Linked DNA regions of Homo sapiens: region 1 is linked to region 2. Evidence: promoter capture Hi-C in 16 types of primary human blood cells and fetal thymus (Javierre and others, 2016). All regions are on one chromosome and are shown on one strand. The core of a region is centred on a gene start or on the middle of the fragment in contact, and the rest is flanking DNA. Distances in the headings are between cores, read along the strand shown.

Evidence for each region. The method cuts DNA at HindIII sites, captures the fragments that hold promoters and counts their contacts. A CHiCAGO score of 5 or more calls a contact.
Region 1: a contact is called between a fragment that was not itself captured here and the fragment with the promoter of TMEM212 in region 2, in 1 of 17 cell types (M0 macrophages). The highest score is 5.6, in M0 macrophages.

What each region holds. Positions count from the first base shown.
Region 1 is chr3:171,938,747-171,941,446 of GRCh38, reverse strand. LOC105374217 (a long non-coding RNA gene) reads right to left here and starts at 2,558. Exons shown (of 4, transcript XR_924718.4): 1 at 1-2,558. The HindIII fragment of the contact is 1,333 bases long and covers 703-2,035 here.
Region 2 is chr3:171,841,984-171,844,683 of GRCh38, reverse strand. It overlaps TMEM212 (transmembrane protein 212), which reads right to left and starts at 1,335. Exons shown (of 5, transcript NM_001164436.2): 1 at 1,142-1,335. The coding sequence starts at 1,300. The HindIII fragment of the contact is 2,451 bases long and covers 303-2,700 here.

The DNA.
Region 1 (2,700 bases), core at 120-2,619, 97 kb before region 2:
AACACACACAAGAGAAATGTTTTTCTAATCAAACATAAGTAGCTACAACTTTTTAAAAAGTTTCTTCAAAACTTTTTTTTAAAATGTGGATGATTTTCCATATATGAACTAAGTATTTCCCATACATTATTCTGATTATGGTTAGTGAAAATTTTAGATTACAGGTCTTATAAACTGAAGCATTTTTTTAAGTCTTGGAAAGTACTATTCTGAAATAGAAAATGATACCAATTAGAACGCTTTAATCACTTTTAAAAATATAAAAGTGTGCTGTGGGTTATAAAAGTTTGTTGAACAATCTTCTTGACATTTATAATTGTCTTCTCAGTTGCCCTTTAACTAGAGATAATTAAAAGAAGTTTGCTAACAGTTCAAGAGTTTAGGAATTCCTTTTCTTTTATTATTCTGCACCATGGCTAAGAAAAAAGAGAGGAAAAAAGGACCTTTCCCTATCGCCTTGCATCTCTAGTCAGAGTTGAAACTCAAGGTCTCAGAGGTAACTTCTTTAAGATAGAGGTAAATGGCATGGAACCCAGGCATCAGAGAAAAGATGTATTTGTTACTTGGAAATTTTAATGAAGTCCCTGTTAGGATGAAAACTGTGGGCCTTCTTCTGAATAAATATGTCCAGTGTAATTATTAAGCTTAAAAAATGCCAAAGGGAAAAAAACCCTCACATTTGGAGCCCTGCATCTGGAAGCTTTTTTCTCTCCCTAGGAAATCTTTGTGGCTCTTTGTTTCTGTCAAGGAGGAAAATGTGCTTGTAAATTTCACCCAAGAGAAAGCGTATCTTTGCATCCACTGCATCAGGAAGGAAAAAATACGACCCAGGGAACAGATGCCAAAAAGCCAGAAACAACCAAAGATTGGAGGGTGGGGTGAGGGGTGGGTGGAATAATGAAAAAAAAACAAAAAAACAAAAAAACAAACCAAAAAAAACCCACCAAACTCAGTCTGGCAGAAAATTTCGGTGAGGAAGTTATCTGTGCCAACCTTAGCCTCAAAGAAAAATACTCCACCCTCTTAAAGCTGCTAAGATGGCAAGGGAGGCAGTGCCTCCACTGGCTGTCCAGACCTCCCCAGACAAATGGATCCCTCCACGACCAGCCAAAGCAAACTTCCCACTACACACCACACATGCATCTGTATGCACAGAGGTCTGTCTTGTGTGCCAGGCAGTTGCTTGTGGTGTGACTTGAAAGGAGCCAGGGAAATCATACCCAACTTTCTCAAACTGCCTGTTCGGGTGCCTAAGATTCAACTAGTATTGGTTCATTCCTTTATAGTAAGAATTACACTCACCCTGAAGTTTTCTTAAAATGTGAACTAAGCCTGGGAGGACATCGCATGCAGACCAAGGCTCTTTTGTATAAAACTTGAGGTCTTAACTCCTACAGAAGGGGACTCTTAAGGTAGTTATTCAAATGAGAAAGAATGACATTCAAACCTCTTCACTGCTGCTACCCATGCCTCCTTATTCCCACTTCTTACAGGGGGTGTGAAATGTTTTTACACAACACAAAGTCATTTACCCTTCAGATGAGGCAGAAAGAGAAAGATGGAGTGACAAAAGTCCTAGCTGCATTGGACATTTTCATTGCTGCATGTTCTGCTTTCAGGCTGTGAGAGAATGGGCTCACCTGGGATTCCTTAGAGCTACATCACCGTGACTGGAATTTCACGCTGTCAAAGGGGCTTCTCCCATTTGTTGGGCAAAACTACTTCTTGTATGGAGGCTCCAGGATATCACCTTATCAGTTAGAAATAGGGTTGCATCTGGGGTTTGAGAAGGTGTCAATTACTCTGCATATTTTAAATGCCCTCTCTTGCAATCTATACAATTAAAATACTTTATGCTCTTAAATCTTTCTTGAGATGAGGCCCAGTGCTTCAACCAGAAACCTCAGAGGAAACATTTATTACATTATTCTAAAGAAACACTCATAATTAATTAAATCTGTAACCTTGAATATTCAATTCCTACTAACATAATTTTAACGATCTCTTCAAAACAATTTATTTTCGTTATCAAGCTTGGTGACCATCTCCTGTGCCTCTTGCCAGGCTCACACTGGCTCGTGCAGAAGGAATTTTTCAGTATGATCCCTGATCTGAGGGGTAAAACATTGAATTGCCTTCAATTTATAGTCAAAGAGAAAAGTTGCTGTCTGCTAGAAGGGTCCATGGGTGCTGCATAAAAAGAGAACAGGAGAGAGAGAGCTTAGCAGTTAGAGGTGAATTGGAGACGCATTCCCTTTGTCACTCGTGTGTAATTCAGACTTGGGGTTGAGTCTTGCACATGTAAGTGTGCTTGCATGTGCACACACACCCCAGGGAATCTCAGGCTAGTGAGTCCGACTGGAAATGATTCATACATATAAGATCAATACATGTTTCAGCTAACAAGCCTCCCAACCTCAGGTTTCTGCAGTGTGCCAGGCAGGAACACCTATAATATCATGCCAGAGATAGCAGTGGAACATTTCAAAGAGCATCTAGGACTATTAAGAAAATCTCAATCCAGGCCGAGTGCCATGGTTCAAGCCTGTAATCCCGGCACTTTGGGAGGCCGAGGTGGGCGGATCACCTGAGGTCAGGCATTCGAGACCACCCTGGCCAACATGGTGAAACCCTGTCTCTACTAAAAATACAAAAATTAGCCAACTGTGGTGATTGCGCCTGTAATCCCAGCCTAATCAG
Region 2 (2,700 bases), core at 86-2,585:
CCCAGGCTGGAGTGCAGTGGTATGATCTCGGCTCACTGCAAACTCTGCCTCCCAGGTTCATGTGATTCTCCTGCCTCAGTCTCCTGAGTAGCTGGGATTACAGGTGCATGCCACCACGCCTAGCTAATTTTTGTATTTTTAGTAGTGACGGGGTTTCGCCATGTTGGTCAGGCTGGTCTCGAACTCCTGACCTCGTGATCCGCTCCCCTTGGCTTCCCAAAGTGCTGGGATTACAAGCGTGAGCCACCATGCCCGGCCAAGTGGCTACATTTTAATAGAAGATTCCTTAAGATCAAAAAGCTTCAATATTGAATTCTCCAGTCTCCAGTAGTGTCAGGCGTCACAGGAATCAATGAGAGAAGGATTTGTTGGACAGGTGGGTCTCTGTAACTTCTCTTAAATCATACCAGCATGGAAGCCAGTTACTCCCAAGACTAGATGTGCCCATTTTTTTTTGGTTGGAGAGCTAAGGGACCAGGCCAATCGTTTATCTGTGCAATGATTCAATGAGCGCACACGGAGTACTACTTAGTGTCGTACGCTGTACTTGGCACATGTACTTTCCTAGTGAATTGTGAAGTCCATCTTGAATTATTGAATTATTTGAATTATTTTCAAATAATTGAAAATTATTGAGTTATTTTCAGTTCAAACAGTTGCTTGCAAGAGAAAGGTGGAAAAACAAATATTTGGGGTTTGTAAATTTTGGGGCCATGTACATCTTAGTGTTTGCAATGAAAGCATTAGTTTGAAAATTATTTTACTTTGTTCTGTATTTTAAAATTACTTTTCAAGGTTTATGTTTTTTTCTAAATTCAAAATTCACATTTCAAAAGATTCTAATTTCTTAGCATATCAAGTTAAGTGGATTAAAATAAAATAACTTTTTAAGAATTTCTTGAGCAGCATGTCATTAAAAATACATAATATACATGTATACATGATAAAACAATATTAAGATCATTTTTATACTTAAAATGCAATTAATAGAAATCAATGTTCCAAGGCGGATTCTGATTTTTTGTGGAATTTTGACTTCTTTGTATTGTTAGAACAATTTAAAAGGATATGTTCTTCTGTTTTCCCTTTCCCTCCCACCTTCTTTTATTTTCTCAATATATTTAATAAACTATTTTCATACCAAAGCTCCATTCCAGATAGGACAAGCAATTCGAACACTCCATCCTGTGAACCAAGGCTTGTAAGAAAAGACAGGAAAGAAAGCAATAACTCCAGAGCATACACTGAGGATCCCCAGAGTAACAAGAATCCGGCCAGCAGCCTGGTAGAGGCCCTTCATTTTCCTTGGTGGCTTGAGGCCTTGGTCTCAAAGATGTTTTGTTACCAAAACATGAGCGTATGACAGGCCTCAGTAAATAGAAGTTTCTTAGAGACAGTAGCCACGACACATACGAACTGTTGATCTACTTGGAAACAAGATTCTATTTGTTTTACCAAAGATGAAATGTACTCAAATAGTCCTTGGCATAAATTTGACACAATAAATTCTAATAACAATTTATTTAAGAGAAAGAGAGAAAAAAATTATCCCTTGCTTTGGATTGCTGCCTTGATTCCCTTCATTCTGCCCTGTCCTGGGGAGTGACCACTTCCTGGCTTAATCAGATTCAAAGGCTTGCTGACTGAGCTAATTGTTTCTCAACTCAACCTGCCTAGTGGTTCCAGCATAAAGCCAACATCCTTTGTGTACAATAGATCCACATTCCCAGCACAATTTCCCACAAAACAAAGTAAAAATAAGCACCCTGGTCACTTTTCATTATATTTAATTTAAATGATTTCAACCCAAAGCAAGACCTTCACCTCCTTTCAAAGTTTAATTCCACTACAATTATTTTTGATAAAGATTTTTGATATGGATTCATTCCCAAATGGGCATGAACTTTATTATGGAGTTTTGCATTGTTTTCACTAAACCAGTTTCACCTTATTTTACTATTAATTTAATTTTCAATTAAAGTGTGATGATGGAAATGTATGCAGTTATAAAATAAAATAAACTTTGAGGAGCAATTCATCAGTTGAATAAAATGCTGATCCCCATTCATTCTTGAATCATAATTCTAATTTGAGATATTGAACTTAGGTACATTTAGGCAGTTACAAGTCATCTCTTACTTTTTCATGCATTTGAGAAAATGGTGTTATTTGATTTTGACTGATTGGATATATGTGGATGTCTGTTCAAAAAAATATCTTAAAAACACAGGTCAGTTTCTGAAGCCATCTGAATAATTTTCCTATTTAACATTAATACATTATTCCTTTTTACTGAAATAAAAGGATGAAAAATAATTTTATGAATGCAAATGAAGTGGTTTAGGACATCGATTTTGAGTCAGATGGAGCTGTGATCCGATTCTGGTTCCACTCTCTACCAGGTTTGTGTCCTTGAGTAAGGGCAAGTTACTTAACTTCTCTAGGTCTATTTATTCGTATGCGAAATGGGAATAAAAGTTAGTGTTTATCTTTAATGGATTTGGTTGAGAGGATTAAATGAGCTAAAACCATAAATGCCTAGCCCAGAGTTTAGCATAACGAAGATGTTCAGAAAGTTACTCTTGTTAAATTGGGATGTTCCACCTTTGGGGTCCTTCCATCGTGGGACAAAGGTGCACTTATTGTGGTTTTTTTTTAAATTCATCACCTTAAAAACATCATGTTTAACTCTTCCTGAAC